Regions from separate parts of the Homo sapiens genome. Here regions 1, 2, 3, 4, 5 and 6 are each linked to region 7. Evidence: promoter capture Hi-C in human tissues and cell types (Jung and others, 2019). All regions are on one chromosome and are shown on one strand. The core of a region is centred on a gene start or on the middle of the fragment in contact, and the rest is flanking DNA. Distances in the headings are between cores, read along the strand shown. Region 1 has its middle 110 kb from the start of SIRPA. Region 2 has its middle 83 kb from the start of SIRPA. Region 3 overlaps LOC124904857 (a long non-coding RNA gene). Region 4 has its middle 100 kb from the start of SIRPG. Region 5 holds the start of FASTKD5 (FAST kinase domains 5). Region 6 holds the start of GNRH2 (gonadotropin releasing hormone 2). Region 7 holds the start of SNRPB (small nuclear ribonucleoprotein polypeptides B and B1).

Region 1 (2,919 bases), core at 103-2,602, 680 kb before region 7:
CTACAACTGGACATGAAGGGAACTGAGCCAGGTGATCTCTAAGGATCCTTCTTCTTTGAATATTCACAGGCTTGGTTTCATTTCCTGTACCCAGGAGTTTTAGTCTGGGCCGGGGCTCCACTCACCCCACTGCTGAGCCTGCTGGCTATCTGATCCCTGCATTGCACAGGGCCCCACTCTGAGAGGAACCCGCACTTGATTTACTGCTCTGCTGTTACTGTTTTGAAACGTTTAATTATTCTGGGACATGCTCTGCTAATTATGTGGCCAGTGCTACCATGTGCCGTTGGTCTACTGCTGTGAGGTGAGGCAGGAGCACGATTTGGCTGTTGGGAGGTCCCTCAGGTTGTTGGGTGCCAGGACTGAGGGCCCTTGCTGGACCCCTCTGAGGACTCCCCAGTCCCTGCTGTCACCAACGCCACCCTCCCAATGCCTCCCCAGACTCTGCAATCCCAGAAAGACAACCTTGGCATTCCTGAACTTCCTTTTCCTCTTTCCTTCAGAAGCTGAACAAATAGTCAAGGGCAAATACCAAAACCGTGGAATTCTGATATAGACCAGGATTTCCGAAGATATGAGCCATGGACTGACATGCAGACACAGTCCTACCCCAGATGTAGAATCCTACAGAGGTCCTAAAATCTGCAGTTAAACAAACTAAACAAAACAGCATTCTGACTGAGTTAAAACTTGAGAACTGCTGATTTAAGCTAGTGACCCAGATGAGTTCAGGAAGATGACTTGATGGGGGCATTGATGCTGCCTGGATTGGGGGCTGGGGAGAAGGAGGGAAGCCAGGGAGAGATGAACTACTCAGCCATATGCTCCTTGTCCTTCAGGTCTCAGCTCAAATGTCCGCCCCCAGGAGGCCTTCCCTTGACTCCAGCACACAGTGAGCTGAGACCCTGCTCCAAGCTCCCTCAACTCCTGACCTTAGCAGAGCACCTTCTTACCATTGGTGATTGTCACTACTGCTAGACTGCGTGCACCGTGGAGGCCAGGAATGGGGACTCTCTTGGTCTCCATGGTATCCGCAACACCTAGCACAAGGTGTAGCACACAGAAGATGCTCAACAAATACTTGTTCGATGAATGAATGAAGAGAGAGTTTGGATGTATAGGGCCAAGGGAATCTTTCAGTCCTAGGAATCTGACACTTACCTTGGAGTGAAGGCTGGTTACTGCCTCTTGCCTGAGGAGACCCTATAGAGGGCTAGCATTAGAATTCCCCTCTCCTGGCTGATCTTAGAGTGATGGAAGAGACTGGCAGGGGAAAATTTAGACTAAGGTGTTAAAGGCTAACATACCATTTCACCCTTCAATATTGGTTGTGATTTCCAAAATGCTATTTGCTAACCCCACTGAGCATCTCACTGGGAAGATCCAAGCCATTGAGGAAAGAAAACAAGCAAAAGAGATTTAAGGGTTAAAGAAACCCTCTTTTGATATTTTACATAGTCCCAACAAACTTCTCTGCTGCAGGAGATGAAGACTTCAGCCACTACAGGTGGACTGGCCCCAGTGACCCCTGTCTCCATGAGAGCAAGCAGATATAATAATGGGAGATGATGGTGAAGATCAATGCCTTAAACCCGAAGAATGGCTTTAATGGTGGACTTTTAGGCTGTCAGCACTTAGGTGGGGCACATCTGTAGGAAGAGGAGAAGAAAAGAAAACTCAATGAGATGAGGTGATTTGCTTGATAACTTACAGAGAGACCAGCAAGCTAGATAGGAACAACTAAGACCAATAAGGAAGTTATAAGAGGCTCATTTCTGCTTAAGAGAAGGAAGAACTTTCTAACAATAAATGCTGTCCAGTAACAAAACTGTTTATCTTTTGGGGGAACTTCCTTTCATCAGGGAAGTATAAGTATAGAACTCCAGTTAGAGATGCTGGACAAGGAGTCTAATTCGACTAGATAAGTGATTTTCAAACCATAGGTCACAATGCCTTCATGGGGCATGAAATCGATTTAGCGGACCTAAACTAGCAATTTTTTTTAACGGAAAAGATAGAAGAGAGAGGAAAGAAAAGAAGGAAAGGAGGAGAAGGGAAAAGTTAGAAGATAGAAGGGGAGGTGAGGCGAGGAAAGAGAAAAGAAGAGGAATTATGTGAGTTTATCCCACATAGGAAAGGCAAGAACTGTCCACTGAAACTTTCGGGGTGTGTGTGTGTGCGCGTCCGTGTTTGTGTGTGTGTGTGCGCGTGTGTGCACTCACTAGGTGGCAATATAAAGTATATTACTAAGTGTGGGTGATAGTCAAAAAGATTGAACACCTCCGGAAGTTGATCTCTAAGATCCTTCAAACTTTGCAGTTATGTGACATGAGGTCCTTAGGTTTTATGTATCAAATTATGAGAATAGGATTCTAAGATCCATTTATTTCATTTTTTATTCATTTACTCCACATTTATTTAATACCTATTTTAAGCCATACTGGGTGCTAGGGGCAAAGAGATACATCAGAATCAGTATCAGTTCCTGCCCTCAAGATATGGAGATGAACATTTACACAGATCATTATAATACAGTGTAGTATATGCTTCAGTAAGCATTTGGCTAAGATTTATGCACCTTTCACCCAGCCCCCTGTGCAAACTGATTTTCTTATCTCCATTTTACAGATGGAAAAAAAATCAAAGCTCAAATGGTCACACAAAGGGTGAATCAAGGTCCACCCAGCAGAACCAGAATTTGAACCTAAGACCACCAGGAGAGCCTGAATTTCTAACCGTTGGGCTCCACTGGGGTGTGAAGGGCAGGTGGGTGGGATATGGAGGCTCAGAGAAGGAAGGCTGGCTGCAGCAGCTGGGGGTGGGGTGGGGAAGAGGCCAGGGAAGGCTTCATAGACAAGGGATCATTGAGCTATGTCTTGAAGGAAGAGGAGTTGGATGGCTTGACAAGGGGGCAAAGGT
Region 2 (2,948 bases), core at 276-2,775, 660 kb before region 7:
TCCCTGGGACAGGCACACACCTGGAAACCCCACAAATGGGAAGGACTCCATGTGGGTGACAGGTGAGGCTGGTAACAAGCGTGTAGGGTCACTGTACTGTTCTCTCCACTTCCTGTAGTTTGAGAATTTTCTTTAGAGAGAGAAAAAAAAAAAAGAGTGTTTTTCCCCTGAAGTTCTCTTTTCCCGACACATGCCCAGAGGATTTCCTGTAGCCCTCCCTCCCCACCATACCCCACCCACAACTTCTCTTTTCTCCTCCCCTCTGATTCGAGGAGAGAGCCATTCTGCTCTGCTTACTAGCTGCCTGTCTGCATCTGGGGACACTTACAAACCTTTGATGCCTGTTTACTCCCCTACTCGCCAAGATTTGGGTCCAGATGGCCTGGTGAGGTGGTGCTGGGCACTGATGGTTGCTAAATGCTCCCTGGGTGATCCTGGCACTTTCTAGAGTTGAGCAACTACCTTGTTACCCCAGACCCAGCCCTGACTCTGCCACACTCAGGGATCTCCTGTTAATAGGGTCCAGCCTCCTTAGAAGACAGTTTAACAACATATTTTGTTACCTGAGCCCATCTTTGGGGTCCACCATAGCTGCCTAAGTGACTTGAGGAGATATTTCTTCCAAACCCAGACAAAGAGCCTCATTCACCACCAGCACTCCTGGTGGATGACATCCTCCCTGTTACCTTATGCGACACGGGTTCCCTGTGACCATTTGGAAAGTGCAGAGAAGCACACAGGAGCTGGCCACAGCCCACTTCAAGCCCAGGAATTTGTGAACAGAAAGGAGCCATTGTCTCCAGTCACTTGAAGGGAACAGCTCAAAAACACATTCAAAGGGCCCTGATGATAATGAATATGCTAATATGATTTCCACTGGGCGCCTGTGCTACCTCCAAAAAACCCTTTCTGACCTTCCTCATGGATTCAAAGCTTTCATTGAAGTCGACAGGGGATTTTGGTTAAAATAACATGAAAGTTTTCATTTAAATGGACAAAGCTGGGAGTTGTGAATTAAGCATGAGTTTCACATTGGTCCTGACACCCCTGACCTTGATGGGGAAATGCATAGATTGTGACTGGACCTTCTGGACCTTCTAGCTATTGCCTTTGGGTGGGCAGAGCTAGCAAGCATTAAGGGTCCCTTTTGCATGACAAGTGAACTCTGGAGACCTAGGTTTAAATCCCAGCTCTGACACTTACTAGCTGGGTGACCTTGAGAAAGGCAAATCATTTCTCTGATTGAGCCTCAATTTCCCCATCTGTAAAATGGTTTGGATAATACTTCCCTTGCAGCATTGCTTCCAAGAGTGAATAAGAAGTCTGTATGTGGGAGGGGTTGGGGAAGTGGAAAACATCTTGGAGCTCCCCACCGTCTCACCCAGTCAGAGACCCAGCAAGGGTGTGAACACCTCCAGCCTCCCATATCCCAGACCTTCTTTCCTTCATTCAGCGTATATTTATAAAGCATTTCCTGGGTGCCAGGTACTGTTTTGGGGCTGGGGATTCAGCTGTGAACAGAACAGATGAACTCTGCCCTCAGTGGAGCTGCCATTGTAGTGGGAAGGACAGACATTAAACACATGAATAGATAAATAATAAGTAAGTGGGCTGGGCGTGGTGGCTCACGCCTGTAATCCTGACACTTCGGGAGGCCGAGGGGTGGGGGGGGGGGTGTTGGATCACCTGAGGTCAGGAGTTCGAGACCAGCCTAACCAACATGGTGAAACCCCATCTCTACTAAAAATACAAGGGCGTGGTGGCACATGCCTGTAATCCCAGCTACTCGGGAGGCTGAGGCATGATAATCACTTGAACCTGGGAGGCGGAGGTTGCAGTGAGCCGAGATCATGCCACTGCACTCCAGCCTGGGCAACAGAGCAAGACTTCGTCTCAAAAATAATAATAATAATATGTAAGTGGTAATAAGTTCTTTGGAGAAGAAAAACAAAGTCCTTAATGAAAAGAGCAGAGCTTTAGAATTAGACAGAGCTGAATTCAAATCTCAGCTTGCTCTTTGCTGGCTGTGTAATGCCTGGGAAAGAGATTTTATCTCCCTAACACTCTTCTGCACATTTTTTAATGAGACCCACTGATGAATCACCCACCCATTGAACAAATATTTATAGAACTCTGGGCCAGGCACGGTGGCTCATGCCTGTAATCCCAGCACTTCAGGAGGCCGATGCAGGCGGGTCACTGAGGTCAGGAGTTGGATACCAGCCCGGCCAATATGATGAAATCACATCTCTACTAAAAATACCCCCCCAAAAAAGAAAAAAAAATAGCTGGACATGGTGGCGTGCACTTGTAATCCCAGCTATTCCAGAGGCTGTGACAGGAGAATCGCTTGAACCCAGGAGACAGAGGTTATAGTGAGCCAAGATCGTGCCACTGCACTTCAGCCTGGGCAAGTGAGCCAGACTCCATCTCAAAAAAGAAAAAAGAACTCTGTCCTGTGTCAAGCATTGTTTTGAGTGCTGGGGAGGCCACAGTGAATGAAACAAAAATCCTTGCCCTTGGGAGCTTAAAATCTAAAAGGGAGAAATAGACAATTAACAAATATACGTATATCAGGTGATGAAAGAAAAAGCAAGGGAAGGAGGTCAAGAATGTGGAGGACATTATTTCAGGGAGTGGTGGTCAGGGAAGGCCTCTCTGGGGAGCTGACATTTAAGTGGAGCTTTGAAAGATGTAGGGGAGTTAGCCATGTGGGTGTCTGAAGGAAGAACCTTCCCAGTCGGAGGAGACATCAAGGGCAAAGGCCCTGAGGTAGGGCCATGCGTGGCTGTTGGGAGGATTAGGGAATTGGAGGCAATGTCTAAGACACACCCAGCACAGCCCCTGGCTCTGAGTGGGGGTTCAATCAATAGCAGTTATTATTTGTACTCATTTTATGAAAAATGCAAGAGAAGTCATTTTCCATTATTATAAAAGTTCTTGAAGGC
Region 3 (2,884 bases), core at 81-2,580, 600 kb before region 7:
CTCTTACGCTGCCTCCAGCCTATGAGAGGATGTAGGTAATGACTATGCTCACAAATATCACAAATGCTCGGTATACAGCAGGGGCTCAATAAATGCTTGTTAGAGGCAACCAGAGCACAGCCAGATGTGTGCGTGTGTATGTGCTGACTGTACCATTTTCCAGATGTGTGTCCCACAGCCCATCACTTTGCCTCTCTGAGCCTCTGTTACCTCATCTGTAAAATGGGAGGACTCATTCTTGCCTGGAAGGGTGAGTGGGGCATCCCCAGGGCTCCTGCGCCCCAGTCACAGGGTGAAGGTATGGCACCAATGTACCCAGAGGATATCTGGCAGGTGCACAGTAGACATAATAGTCCACATAATAGTGACAACCAGAGCCACCGTAGCATCTGGCAGAGCAGACTTGGGAGTGAGCTCTTGTGAGTCACAGGTTGGGGCTTCCCTGTGTAACCTGGTGAGGCTCACAGGAGTCCAATGGCTTAGAGTGGCAGATAGGGCCATGAGTCGGGCCATTGTCTCTGTGTCATCAATGATTCTGTGTTTGGTAGGTTTGCTCTAGACTCAGAGAAGAGCAAGACTCACTGGGAGCCTCTTCCCCTCTGCTAAGTTTTGAATGTATCCCCCAGAGTTCACATATTGGACATGTAATCCCCAGTGCAAGAGTGGTGACATGTAGGACCTTTAAGGAATGATTAATGCCATTATCATGGGAGTGGGTTGGTTATCGTGGGATTGGGTTCTTGGTAAAAGGATGAGCTCAGCACCCTTCCCTCTTGTTCTCTCTTGCACAATCTCTTACCCTTTTGCCTTCCACTATGGGATGATGCAGCCCAAGGGCCCTCTCCAGATGCCAGCTCCATGCTCTTGGACTTCCCAGTCTCTAGAATCATAGCCAGATAAATTTCTATTCATTATAAATTACCCAGTCTGCAGCATCCTGTTATAGCAGCATAACATGGACTAAGACACCATCCTTTGCCCCAGTTCAGGGCAAAGAGGCCTCAAGAAACCCACCATTTGTGAGAAACTTTTATGTGCTTCCTGGACTTTCTAGGTATTTACTGACAGCTAACTGTTACGGAGCACTTCTAGCACTAGGTACTGCTCTGCGCTCTTGTACCGTCTCAGACAAGGCCCCACAGGAACTCCTTGACACAGGTATTGTTATCACCATTTTGCAGGTGAGGCAACTGAGGCACAGAAAGCTTCCCAGAGTCACACAGGTAGGGCGATGGAGAAAAATTTGGAGTCTAAGTCTGAGTCCCTGAGCTTTCTGCTTAGGAGGCAGCCTAGCCTGGTGGTTAAAGCTGTGACCCCTTCCAAAGCCAGGCCACCAGGGGTCAAAGCTAGGCTCTTCCCCTTTGTTCTCCTTGCCTCAGTTTCCTTATCCAGAAAATGGGAGCAATAGGACCTACCTCATCAGACTGCTGTGAGGATTAAGTGAGGGCTGTGTTTACAGTGATAGGCAATCCATAATCCATAAAAGTACACGCTGGTCCTACCAGATTCCTCCTTCTCTTAGCTCAGAGGACTTCTCCCAATGTGTCTCTCTGTCAGTCTTATTTCTCTCTCTTGCTCTTTGCCATCTCTTCTGAGGCATATAAGCTTCTCTTTGTCACTTTCCTCTCTATCTTGGTCCCTTCTGGGTCCTAAATCCTGGCTCTGAGTTTATGTGCTGCATAAACTTCAGCATAGCACAGGGCAACCCTCCTGACTGTGGATACTCTCAAACTTCATAGAAATTTCTCCTGGGGAACTGGCTAAATGCAGAGTCCTGGTTCCACCGGAGAGAATCAGATTCTATAGGTCCAGGATGGGGTGAGAGAATCTGCATTTTAACCACTGTCCTCTCCAAAACCTTTCACCCTGTGACCTCCCAGGCTGGCTCTTGAACTATACTTTGAGAAGCACTGCATTTGCCCTCAGTTTCCTCATCTGTCAATTTGGAGTAAACAGAAACTACCTCCCAAGGTTGTAAAGATGAAATGAAATAATTTGTCTGGAAAGCAAACACCTTTTCTCTGTCTTGGCTTTTGTAAAATTTATTTTGTCTCTGACTTTCCCATTCTCTGTTTCTGGTGTTTTTCCTATTTCATTCTCTGTCCTCTCTCTCCCTACCCTCTACCTGGAAGTGGACCCAACTCCAGAGCTGAAATGGAAAACACTGAACAGGTGTGGCCCTTCTGTAAAGGCTGGAGGCCCCAAGATCATCCAAATGGCCTGTCCAGCTCCTTCCTACTGGCACCCCAGCAGTCCCCAAGACCAAGCATCCCCACCCCTGCAGCCCCCACAGCAGCAAAGCTGGGGAAAGATGGGGATCCATTGTGCAGGAACGGCCTTGCTGCTATGGAAACCAGCACTCAGAAAATGCTCAGAGATGATCCATTCTGGGGAGCGGCCTGGCCTTGGGGGAGGGGGAAAGGCCAAACTCTGCACCTTGGACTTTGCCCTCCCATTACCGGCCATGTGATGCTGGGCAAGTCACTTAACCTCTCTGAACCCTCCTCTCCCTCACCGGGCCCCGAGCAGCAGCCTCCATTATCGGTGGGTGATAACCGCCGCTGATGACTGAACACTGCTCTGCGGCTTTCAAGCCTGAAGACACGCCAAATTGCCATTTGCTTTCATTACTGCGAGCTTGAAATATTCTAGTGCCAGCTTGCTGCATGACCCTGTGCCTCCGAGGGCCACCAAACTATTTCCATGATAGAATTCCCTCTCGCAGAGGTGCAGAGTCCACTCTGAGTCACTCTACAACACACACACACACACACACCACACAAGCACACACACACCGCACACACAGACACTAGCTACTGAGCTAAGTTGCCCATACACTTGCCTCACCCCGGTTGCGCTGCGATTCCTCTTCTAGGAAGGGAAG
Region 4 (2,975 bases), core at 383-2,882, 710 kb before region 7:
GAATTCTAGACATATTTTTGTAAATATATATGACTATTTTTAAATTTATATGAACAAAGGGAAAAAAAGAGAACTGAAAGAGTCAAAACAGAATAAAGTGGAAGGAATCAATATACCTGATTTTAAGACATGATAAAGATGTAGTAATCAAAACTTTGTGATATTGGCAGAGGAACAGACACATAGATCGATGGTACAAAATAGAAAACCTGGAAACAGCCCCGTACAAGTACAGACACTTGATTTTTCAAAGTAGCAAAAGCAATTCAATGGAGGAAGGATTGATTCCACAAGTGAAACAGTCTTTTCAACAAAAGGTGCTGGATATCCATAAACAAAAAATGAACCTCAACCGAAACCTCATACCATACATTATACAAAAATTATCTCAAAATAGATCGTAGGTTCAAAGATAAAACATAAAACTATAAAATGTTTAGGAGAAAATCTTCAGGATCTAAGGCTCGATGGCAGATTCTTAGACCTGACATCAAAAGCATGATCAATTTTAAAAATTGATAAGTTGGATTTCATCAAAATTTAAAACTTTCGCTCTCCAAAATACCATGTTAAGGATGAAAACAAAGCTACTGACCGGGTGAAAATATTTGCAAACCACCCATCTGACAAAGGGTTCAAATCTAGGATATCTCTCTCAAAACTCAACAGTTAAAAACAACAAAACAAGACAAAAACTTCCATTACAAGTGGGTAAAGGTGGGAAAACTCAAACTGTTTTTCCTCTGCACTCATATAGCAACAATCAACACAGAAGACTTCTGTGACCAAATGTGGGAGATTTCTTCTCCACCAACAAGCAAGCAATCAATTCTGCAGCAGACACCAGCTGGGTGTCCTCAATCCAATTCTAATCTGATGCTATCTATCTGGAGGTAACGTCAGACACCACGGGGATGAGCACTCAGTCCCATGGAACTTCTCCCCACTTCCAATGCCAATTGCAAGGAATGTGCTTCTGACTCACTGGCTATGAATCAGAGATCTCACGACCTCTTCCTTGTGTTTAATTAATTTGCTAGAGCGGCCCACAGAACTCAGGGAAACACTTAAGTTTGCCAGTTTATTATAAAGGATATAGATGAAGAGATGCATAGGGAGAGGAATGGGGAAGGGACACGGAGCTTCCATGACGTCCGCAGGTGCAGCACTTTTCAGGAACTTGTATGTGTTCAGCTGTCCAGAAGCTCTCTGAACCCAGTCCTTTTGGGTTTTTACAGAAGCTTCATTATGTAGGCATAATTGATTAAATCGTTTAATCGACTTACTCTTCAGGTGACCAGTCGCCATCCTGAAGCTACGGAGGTGCTCCCAGCCATCAGTCAATTCATTAAGACACAAAAAGACATCTCTTTGGAGAGTCTAAGGATTTTAGGGGTTGTTTGGCAGGAAACAGGGTTGAAGACCAAATATATATTTCACAATATCACAATGGGTGAAAGACATAAAGAGACATTTTATCAACAAGGATATATAGATAGAAAATAAACACATAAAAGATGCTTACATCGCTAACCATCAGGAAAATGCAAATTAAGATCATAATGAGATATTATTACTATGTACCTAATAGAACAGTTATAGTAAAACATAGTGACAATATCAAATGCTGGCTAGGATGCGGGGAAACTGAATATCTAATACATTGAAAATGGGAATGTAAAATAATACACCCACTCTATAAAACTGGTTGTCAACTTCTTAAAAAGAACTAAGCATACACTCACTATACTACATGAACCAGCAATTGCCCTCCCATGCATTTGTCCCAGAAAAATGAAAACTTATGTACACACAAAAAACCGTGCACAAATGTTTGTAGCAGATTTATTTGTAACAGCAAAACACTGGAAACAACCAGTGTAAGACAAACTTGTCTTACAAGTGAATGGCTAAACAAACAGTATGCATCCATACAATAAAATAACACTCAGCAATAAAAAAATAAATTATTTATATATGCAACAACTTGTAAGGATCTCAAAGGCATTATGTTGAGTGAAAAATCAAACTCAAAATGTTACATACTGTATGATCCCATTTATATAACATTGTCAAAATTACAGAGATATAGAAGAGGTTAGCATTTGCCAGAGACTTAGTATGGTGAGGGTGGGTGTCACTATAATGAGGTAGCACCAGGGAGACCTTTATGGTTATGGAATTGTCTGTATTTTGACTATAGTGGTGATTACACAAACATACACAGGAGAGACTGAACATAAGCAAAAGCTAGGAATATTACCAGACCCAGCTGGAAATAATGTTCAGCCGGGTGGGGAGGTTCATGTCTGTAATCCCAGCACTTTGGGAGGCTGAGGTGGGTGGATCAATTGAGGTCAGGAGTTCGAGACCAGCCTGGCCAACATGGTGAAACTCTGTCTCTACTAAAAATACAAAAATTAGCCAGCCGTGGTGGTGCACACCTGTAATTCCAGCTACTAGGGAGGCTGAGGCAGGAGAATTGCTTGAACCCAGGGGGCAGAGATTGCAGTGAGCCAAAATTGCACCATTGCACGCTAGCCTGGGCGACAGAGTGAGACCCCATCTCAAAAAAAAAAAAAAAAAAAGAAAGTAAGAATATTCAAACACTTATTACAATATAGACATCGACTCTTAAATTATCCCAAATTATGATATAATCATATTCAGTTGATGGGGAATAGAAAGTGTTCACGTGTGGCATTAAGTCAGCAATGGTGGAGCATTATATTACCATCTGTAATTGTGGGAAGTCAAAAGTAACGCCTAATACTGAAAAATGAAGAAGTGGCAATATGAACATGTTATATGAGATATGGCAGTAAAAGTCTAAGATAATCTATTAAAAATTGAGAATAGTTGCTTCTGGGAGATAGAATATGGTTGGATGTTAGGGAGACTCCAATTTTTATATGTAAAACTTATATAACTATTTATTTGACTCTTAGTGTGTACATGTAACTTTGAGAAAGATA
Region 5 (3,017 bases), core at 195-2,694, 690 kb after region 7:
AAGTTATGTTATGCAGCACAGAGTCTTCAGATTTTATTTACTTATTTATTTATTTATTTATTCATTTATTTGAGACGGACTCTCGCTCTCTCGCCCAGGCTGGAGTGCAGTGGCGCGATCTCGGCTCACTGCACACTCCGCCTCCCGGGGTTCACGCCACGCTCCTGCCTCAGCCTCCAGAGTAGCTGGGACTACAGGCGCCCGCCACCACGCCCAGCTATTTTTTTGTATTTTTAGTAGAGACGGGGTTTCACCATATTAGCCAAGATGGTCTCGATCTCCTGACCTCGTGATCCGCCCGCCTTGACCTCCCAAAGTGCTGGGATTACAGGCGTGAGCCACTGTGTCCGGCCCAGATTTTATTTTAGTCTACCAGGTAGTAGCAAACTATCCAAGGACTTGCCCAGGACCATTCAGGTCAGTGAGCTACAGAATCTAGTTCTGGAAAGGCAGCCATTCTTACTATTCACAAAGTGTAGAAAACGTGAATTCAGATTCCAGCAGCAACAAATGACTGGAGCACAAAACGCCAGCCACAGTTGGTGCTAACGCAGCTGGCTATCAGCTCCACAGGATGAAGCACTGTCCAAGGGTCTGATCAGTGAAGCATCACCCAAGACTGATGAACACAGCTGATATGAGGGGACCCAAAGTTCCCTGAGTCAAGACAGAAGAGCTGTGTCACGGTTTGCACAGAAAGAGAAAGAGCAACTATTCTTACCCACGGAAAGAAAAAGGGAGAAGGCCATCAATACTACCCTTAGGCTTGTGCAACGAGAAACTGCTAAAAATGGGGGGAAGGTATATATCCTATCATACTGATGTTTACCGAAGACTCCGCATCCCAAATGCTAAGCAACATACTGTAGGGCCTTGCTACTCAGTGTGTGGTCTGCGTGCCAGAGGCTTCAGCCTCGTCTGGAATCTAGTTAGGAACACAGTTATCTCAGAACCCACCCCAGTCCTACAGAATCAGAATCTCTAAGCGATTCGCAGGCACATCAAAGTGTGATGAGAGGCGCGGCAGAATATCTGACTACATTCTCTTAACAGCACCGTGAGACAAGTACTGTTACGATCTCCATTTCACAGAGGAAAAAAAATCAAGGGTCAGATAAGCCCCCTGCCAAAGATCACAAACTCAGGAGCGGCGAGAGTCACTGAAGTTCTCACCACAGCCAGGCCTGCGAGAGGCACTGGCAACCCAGGCCAAGAGCTGAACAAGGCCTCGATGCGCTCCAGCTCTGGGCCGGCCGGGAGGACAGGAGGCACAGGCCAAGGCCCAGGACGGTCGTGAACGCGGAAAGAGGCCGCCGCGACCTCCTCCCCGGCCGCCGCCACTCACCTGATCCTCCCGAAGGTGGGCGCCGCAACACCAAACCGGGGACGCCGCGGGCGGCGGCGACACAGATACTGGCTCCTCCGGCGACTCCGAGCCTCACAGCCCCACTTCCGGCCAACTGCCCGCTACTTCCGCCTGCTGCGCGAGTGACGGATGCGGCCGAGGCTCAAAAGACTCTGTCAGCGTTTCCCAAGGACATTTTCCACTGGAGGACGTTGTTGAGGAGGCAGGGGGAGTCTAGGACCTGCAGAGGGAAAACACCTTCCTGGATGGATCGCTCTGGAAGTCATTAAGCAGCTTAGTCCCGGCGCGGTGGCTCACGCCTGTAATCCCAGTACTTTGGGAGGCCAAGGCGGGCGGATCACCTGAGTTCAGGAGTTCGAGACCAGCCTGGCTAACGTGGTGAAACCCCCGTCTCTACTAAAAATACAAAAATTAGCCGGGCGTGGTGGCGCACGCCTATAATCCAGCTATTCAGGAAGCGGAAGCAGGAGAGTCGCTTGAACCCGGGAGGCGGAGGTTGCAGTGAGCCGATATCTCGCCACTGTACTCCAGTCTGGGCACCCCTGTACTCCAGCTCTGGGACACAGAGCGAGACTCCATCTAAAAAAAAAAAAAAAAAAAAAAAAGTAAGTAGCTTAGACACATGTTCAAATCTGAGGACCACCACTCAGGGTTTTATGGCCTTGGAGAAGTCACATAAATTCATTCTTGTTATATTATTATTATTATTTTCATAGAGACGGGGATGGCAGTGTCTTCCTATGTTGCCCAGGCTAGTCTCGAACTCCTGGGCTCATGCAATACTGCCGCCTCAGCCTCCGAAAGTACTGGGATTACAGGTATGAGCCATCGCACCCGGCCCACATAAATTCTCTAAGCCTGTACAGTGAGAAAAACAATACATTTTTTTTTTTTTTGAGACAAAGTCTTGCCCCATTGCCCAGGCTGGGGTGCAATGGTGCAATCATGGCTCACTGCAGCCTCAACCTCCTGGGTTCAAGTGATCCTCCTGCCTCAGCCTCCTGAGTAGCTAAGACCACAGGCATGCACCACCACACCTGTCTAATTTTAACAATGCATTGGTCGGGTGTGGTGGCTCACACCTGTAATCCCCGGTGTTGGAGACCGGCCTGGCCAACATGGTGAAACCTCGTCTCTACTAAAAATACAAAAAAAAATTAGCGGGGCATGGTGGCGTGCACCTGTAACCCCAGCTACTTGGGAGGCTAAGGCAGGAGAATCACTTGAACGCAGGAGGTAGAGGTTGCAGTGAGCCGAGATTGCACCACTGCACTCCAGCCGGGGCAACAGTGAGACTCCATCTTTTTTTTTTTTTAATGCATTTATAATAGAGATGTATCTGTAAAGTGCTCTCAGGAAAAGAGCTAGTGACATGATGGATAGATGAGCCTGCTGAGAGAAATGGATGTGGAGCTGGGGCTTAGCGAGGCCAGAGCTATGGAGCATGAGCCAGGGTGATTCTCCACCACCCTAAGAAGGAGGGCTGGGTCCTACTGGGTACATATATTGACACAGCTGTCAGTATAGGTACCTAGACAAGAAAGAGACTCTACTAAACCTCTACCTATCAGAAAGTCCTGGCCCCAGGCTGCCATTCCTGAGGGCACTTGAGATCTGCTGATCAGGGTCTTCATATCTTGTCAATGCCTTG
Region 6 (2,945 bases), core at 111-2,610, 570 kb after region 7:
AAAGCTAAGTATGTTGCCGGAAAAAAAAGGGAGCAGAGCTTTCCCCAGGAAGCTTGGCTCTGGTTTAGATTTTTCAGGAAAAGCCGGAATCAAATTACAGAATAAATAAAGGCAACCATCCCCCTTTTAAAGGTACACCAGCCTTGGTGCATCTTTGAAGAAAGCATTCTGTAAACCCCAACCAGAACTAAACTAGTACGTCGAACTCAGATTCATTTTCACTAAACCACAAGCAAATGTTTCCCTAAAAATCACCCAGTTAACAAAGTCCGCATATTTAAGCCAAAACAATTTAACTGAACAAATGGGCCACACGTTGATTTCCGGTCCCTGCTAATAAGTCAGTCTGGAAGTTCACAGGTGTGCCCATCCTGCCTTGGCTGCTGAAGTCCAGGTGTCTAGGGCTGACTGATGCCCATTATGCCTCCCCTCCCCCATCTTTGTCACAGGATTTGACGCACCAGCTCTCCAAATGACCCTGGCCCTCCCATTTGCTGTTCAGCCCAAGTGCGGAGATTGGCTATGAACCCTGTAAACAGGCCTCTGACCCCCAGAGGCTGATGGCTGGCCAAGGAAAGCTGAGCTGCTGACGCAGACTGGGAAGCAAGAGCCCACTTCCAGCAGCCCAGGCTAGCTGTGTCCAAATCCATGACTGGGGAGGGGTTAGAGCCTTGAGGGACAAAATTATTCTACCTACCTAGGGAGACTGCACTGGCCCAACAGCTGGGCCCCATCTCATGGGCCCGCTTCTTCGCCAGGAGAGAAGCCACTCCGGGGTAGGTACTGCCCCACCCAAACCCAGCCATCTGGAGTGACCCAGCCCTGGTTCCCAGGTGTGTGGATGTGAATTGTCCCACCCAACCCACTCTACAGTGAGCAAACGGAAGCCCTCTGGGAGAGTGGTCACAGCCTCCCCTGTACCTCTGAACAGCCTGCCAGGCTCCCTACTCTTAGGCTTCCACTGTCCACCAGGGAAAGCCCTGAGCTGGGAGTTGGGGAGCCCCCAGGCATTGCCCCTGCCCAGGACACAATTCTCTTTTGGGATCAGGGAAGGCTGTGAGGGCTTTCTAGGTCTCAAGATCAGGAGCTTGAAGATGCAGCCTGGGAAGTGGGAAGGTGAGACCAGGACATAGGCCAGCCTAAAGCAAGAGTCCTGGGCCTGAAGGCTCCTGGGAAGGTGGTGGGGAGGGAGCATGTGTCGGTGGCCTCAGGGCAGCAGCTGCCTGGTGAATGTTCATGGACTGGATGCTCTGGGAAGCGGGTTGGGTGGTGAGCTTCTCTCTTCCCCTCTGAAGACGTCACTGGAGTCTGGGGGTGGAGCTGCCTGGTCTATAAATCCTGGGGCCATCAGGCTAGGGTCCTGCAGCTGCCTGAAGGAGCCATCTCATCCACAGCTCTTCCTTGGTGAGTGGGGAGCCTTCCCTAAGGGCTAGGACACCTGGACCAAGTTTCATCCTGGGCGTATGGTGTGCTGCTCCTCTTCCCCATTCCCAGGTGCCTCCACCCCTGAACCATGCCAGAGAAGTCCCCTTTTCCTCTCCTCTCCCCAACAGCTCTACCATCTATTCTTGTGCTTGTTGCCCCTGGCATGGGAGGGATAAGGGGTAGAAGCACTTGCCCCCATCAATACCACTCATCCATTCCACATCCCCAACTACTATGGAAGAGATACAGCAGGCCACGGAGAAAAGGGCAGAAGGCCTGCAACTCTGGTTCCCTAGCACTGGTGCTCCAAACACGCCTACATTGAGAACTCCCCTGACCATCCATCTATCCTCCCATCCATTGGCCTGAATTCAGGTCTCTGTTCCCCTCCAACTTTCTTCCACTTCTGGAAACTCCTTGAAGGAAAGATGGATGGACCTGGACAAGTGGGAGGGCCCTCAGAGCTGGCAAGGCAGGTAGCCTCTGTGCCCCAGGCTCAGGGAGAAGGCTCGTCCCCTGGAGCATCATCCCCTGCTGGGCCAGGATCCCCCAGGATCTGGACCCCTGTATGCTTGGGATGAGGAGCGGTGGCAGAGAGGGAAGGGCATAAGGAGATACCAAAGCTGCCCCTGAGATGCCAGTTTTCCAAAGTGGCCCTGGAGGAAGTAGGGGGATGTGGGGGTGAGGTAAGTCTCCTTGAATGCTGTACCCTGTCCATTAGAGCAGCCATGGCCAGCTCCAGGCGAGGCCTCCTGCTCCTGCTGCTGCTGACTGCCCACCTTGGACCCTCAGAGGCTCAGCACTGGTCCCATGGCTGGTACCCTGGAGGAAAGCGAGCCCTCAGCTCAGCCCAGGATCCCCAGAATGCCCTTAGGCCCCCAGGTGGGTGTCTCCCAGCCTCATGGGGAGGAAGAAAGTGATGGCCGGGGGCTCCCCCACCCTCCTGGAGCCTGAGGTCGGGGTAGGGAGGACAGCATCAGTTCCCTTCTAAGGAAGGGCCCTGGACACTGCAGCAGGCAGCCCAGTCCAGACTGCCCATGGCCTCCCAAGTGATGCCCTGGCTCCCCTGGACGACAGCATGCCCTGGGAGGGCAGGACCACGGCCCAGTGGTCCCTTCACAGGAAGCGACACCTGGCACGGACACTGCTGGTGAGTAGGGTGAGAGGTCCCCAGCATCAAGACCAGCCACTGGTCATCAGAGGCCATTGTGGCTTAGGGTTGGGTGCTGGGAGGGTGGGGAGAATGAAACACCACTGAGATGCCCCCTGCCACAGCACCCCCAGCCATTTCTCAGTGCCCCTACTGCACACAGCAGGGTGCTGTCTGCTATCCTTCCTATTTCCCAGGAGGATTCTAGACAATTTACAAAGCACTTGGGTTAAAGACCAAAGTCACTAGTAGACTAGAAGGAGATAATTGTTCTATAAGACAGTGGTGGCCATGGGATCCCACAGGCATCCTGACAAGCCAATGACTGTCTTGAGGTGGACAGACCCCAGGCCAGTGGAAAGAGGTGAGG
Region 7 (2,760 bases), core at 40-2,539:
TGGCCAACATGGTGAAACCCCGTCTCTACTAAAAATACAAAAAATTAGCCAAGTGTGGTGGCGGGTACCTACAATCCCAGCTACTTGGGAGGCTGAGGCAGGAGAATCGCTTGAACCCGGGAGGTGGAGTTTGCAGTGAACCCTGATCGATCCACCGCACTCCAGCCTGGGCAACAAAAGCAAAACTCCGTCTCAAAAAAATAAAAATAAATTAAATTAAATCCTTCAATGACATGCCTCACCACCACTGAGGTAAAATTAACATGCAAGGCCTTTAGTAACTAGCCTCCTGCCAATTCTTCCCGTCTTCCCTTCTTTCTTCCTTTCTCCTCCAGCAACTTTTTCTCAGTCAACAAACGCAGAAAAATCCAGTAACTTTTTAAATCTTGTTACCCTTCAGCCTTTGTTCCTTCAGTTCTCCGGGTCTGTAATATTCCCCCCATTTTCGCCGGGAACATTCTTGCTAATCTTTTAGGAATCTGCTCAGGAACCATCTATTTGAGAAAACATTCTTACCCCGCCCCGCTGCCGTTACTTTTACCGAATGACCACACTGAATTATATTATGTGTCCCCAGCTACCTCTGTGAAGGAAGCAAACATATTTCAGAGAGTAGCCCCAGCGCCTGAGAAGTCAGGCACAGGCAAACACGGAAACGTGATGAGCAACTGAGTGGAGCTCTTCCTCCATTCGCCATCACCCTCCTCCGCCCTCCTCTCCATCCAGCAGACCTAGCGAGACTCTAGCGTGGTCCACGAGCCCCTTCCACCCACTTCCGCCAACTCTTTCTCAGACTCACAAACTTCCGCAAGTCTGAGCCTTTTACCGGGTCCCCCTGCGGCTCCAGTGCCTGCTCCGAAGCCCGGGACATATATTTATTCGGCAAAAGTTAACTTAGTGCCTACTGGGTCCCAGGAATTATGGCTACAGCGGTGTCGAGAGCCGCGGTTCTACCCTCGCCCCTGCCGAGCGACCTCGGCCTCCGACACCGGTTCCAACCTTTTCCTCGACCCCATGCCTAGCCGAACCGCCAAGGTCCTGGTCTTTCCCGCCCAGACCGAGCGGCCTCGGCCCAGGCCTTCACCGCCCTAAGTGGCTCCAACCCACGGCTTCCTCCCCGATCAGTCGCGGTTCCCACTCCACAACAGACTCGGAAGCTCCCGCGCCGCCAGCCTGTGCCCTCCTTACCATGGTGGCGGTTCTGATGGCTCTGATACCCGCCGGATTCGCCTCCTCAGAGGCCTAGCCTCTCTCCCACAGCCGATTTCCCGCCGCCGCTACCGGAAATGCAGCACCACGTAAAATGCGGTCGGGTAGAAACCTACTTCCGGTCCAGCTCACTAGCCCTGGAGTTCCGGCCCCGGAGCGGAGCTTCTGCCGAGCAGAGGCGGGGCCTGGGGACTGGGCGTTAACATCCGGCTTTGACGTAAGGAGAGCCTTAAGTTCCTGTTTGGACACCTTCCTAGCTTAAATCCGTACTGAGAGCTGCTCTGTGTCACACTCATTTCTCTTCACCCCGCCTTTCCCATTAACCTCTCGGTCCTCATTTCCCATCACCCTCCCCGGCTCTCTCCTCTACAGTCACTATTCTTGCTTTTCCCTCCACTGGCTGGACGTGCTCCTTTTTCAGCCCCTCTGCATTTGCTTTCGCCTCTGCCTGGAATGGTAGTCCCCAAGGTATACCAGAAGGCTGCTGCCCTCACCTCTTTCAAGGTTTAAGCTTAAATAACATTTTCCCAGTGAGGATTTCCCTAGCCATCCTGTAACCTTCCCACCCACCTCATCCTCATCTCTCCTGTATTTCCCTCTTGCTATCTAACACGCTGTATATTTTTGTTAGTTATTTTATTATCCCCTCCCCATTAGAATGTAAGATCCATAAGGGTGTGAATTTTTCTCTTTGTGTATTACTCATTGCTGTAGTGCCTAGAACACTTTAGCACAAAATAAGGGCTCTACCCATATTTGCTGATAATCGCATCCAGTCGTATGACATTTATTTTTTTTCTATGACTTTTTTTTTTCTTTTGAGACAGAGTCTCAGTCTGTCACCAAGGCTGGAGTGCAGTGGCACAATCTCGGCTCACTGCAACCTCTGCCTCCCCGGTTCAAGCGATTCTCCTGCCTCAGCCTCCCGAGTAGCTGGGAATACAGGCCTGTGCCACCACACTCGGCTAATTTTTGTATTTTTAGTAGAGACGGGGTTTTGCCATGTTGGCCAGGCTGGTCTCGAACTCCTGACCTCAACTCCTGGTCTCGAACTCCTGATCCACCCACTTTGGCCTCCCAAAGTGCTGGAATTACAGGCGTGAACCATCACACTGGGCCCTTCCTATGACTTTTAAATACAGCATATACACCCAAGGCTTTCAAGTTTGTTCCTCTAACCTTGGTCTCTTCATTTAACTCTTGGCCCTTTATATCCAGCTGCCAGCGTGATGTGAATGTCTAATAGGTATACCAAATTTAACATGTTGAAAACTGAATTCTTGATTCTATTCACTGTTTCTAAAACCACTTCACCAGTGTTCCCCATCCCCGAAGTTTCTTGGATTAAAAAAGAAAAAAAAGAAAATGACAAATTTGAAGCATATTTCATTCTTCTCTTTCTCTGCCATCGAATAATCAAATTCATCAGCAAATCCTGTGGCCCCCACCTTCAAATTATCTTGAATATGATTGTTGTCACCCACTCCATTGCGTCCACTCTAGTCATAGCCACCATCGTCTCTGTCTTGGATCATTGAACGAGCCCGTAAC

The links. The method cuts DNA at HindIII sites, captures the fragments that hold promoters and counts their contacts. A contact is called where the count stands out against the background at its distance.
Region 1: a contact is called between a fragment that was not itself captured here and the fragment with the promoter of SNRPB in region 7, in 2 of the 25 tissues and cell types used here (IMR-90 fibroblasts and dorsolateral prefrontal cortex).
Region 2: a contact is called between a fragment that was not itself captured here and the fragment with the promoter of SNRPB in region 7, in 3 of the 25 tissues and cell types used here (liver, lymphoblastoid cells and mesenchymal stem cells).
Region 3: a fragment that was not itself captured here is called in contact with the fragment with the promoter of SNRPB in region 7 in 1 of the 25 tissues and cell types used here (lymphoblastoid cells).
Region 4: a fragment that was not itself captured here is called in contact with the fragment with the promoter of SNRPB in region 7 in 4 of the 25 tissues and cell types used here (dorsolateral prefrontal cortex, heart left ventricle, liver and 1 more).
Region 5: the fragment with the promoter of FASTKD5 here is called in contact with the fragment with the promoter of SNRPB in region 7 in 1 of the 25 tissues and cell types used here (heart left ventricle).
Region 6: the fragment with the promoter of GNRH2 here is called in contact with the fragment with the promoter of SNRPB in region 7 in 1 of the 25 tissues and cell types used here (thymus).

The regions. Positions count from the first base shown.
Region 1 is chr20:1,786,460-1,789,378 of GRCh38, forward strand. No RefSeq gene overlaps it. Among named protein-coding and RNA genes, the nearest start is that of SIRPA, 110 kb to the right of the region's middle. The HindIII fragment of the contact is 9,616 bases long and covers 1-2,919 here.
Region 2 is chr20:1,811,095-1,814,042 of GRCh38, forward strand. No RefSeq gene overlaps it. Among named protein-coding and RNA genes, the nearest start is that of SIRPA, 83 kb to the right of the region's middle. The HindIII fragment of the contact is 6,291 bases long and covers 1-2,948 here.
Region 3 is chr20:1,872,168-1,875,051 of GRCh38, forward strand. It overlaps LOC124904857 (a long non-coding RNA gene), which reads right to left. Exons shown (of 3, transcript XR_007067496.1): 2 at 800-880; 3 at 1-19. Among named protein-coding and RNA genes, the nearest start is that of SIRPA, 22 kb to the right of the region's middle. The HindIII fragment of the contact is 5,779 bases long and covers 1-2,884 here.
Region 4 is chr20:1,760,375-1,763,349 of GRCh38, forward strand. No RefSeq gene overlaps it. Among named protein-coding and RNA genes, the nearest start is that of SIRPG, 100 kb to the left of the region's middle. The HindIII fragment of the contact is 4,174 bases long and covers 1-2,975 here.
Region 5 is chr20:3,158,421-3,161,437 of GRCh38, forward strand. FASTKD5 (FAST kinase domains 5) reads right to left here and starts at 1,445. Exons shown (of 2, transcript NM_021826.5): 1 at 1,346-1,445. UBOX5 (U-box domain containing 5) reads right to left here and starts at 1,445. Exons shown (of 5, transcript NM_014948.4): 1 at 1,346-1,445. The HindIII fragment of the contact is 11,638 bases long and covers 1-3,017 here.
Region 6 is chr20:3,042,262-3,045,206 of GRCh38, forward strand. It overlaps GNRH2 (gonadotropin releasing hormone 2), which reads left to right and starts at 1,361. Exons shown (of 4, transcript NM_178331.2): 1 at 1,361-1,404; 2 at 2,147-2,307; 3 at 2,439-2,575. The coding sequence starts at 2,154. The HindIII fragment of the contact is 17,170 bases long and covers 1-2,945 here.
Region 7 is chr20:2,469,500-2,472,259 of GRCh38, forward strand. It overlaps SNRPB (small nuclear ribonucleoprotein polypeptides B and B1), which reads right to left and starts at 1,290. Exons shown (of 7, transcript NM_003091.4): 1 at 1,189-1,290. The coding sequence starts at 1,191. RefSeq lists enhancers at 910-1,029, 1,190-1,239, 1,250-1,299. The HindIII fragment of the contact is 7,557 bases long and covers 1-2,760 here.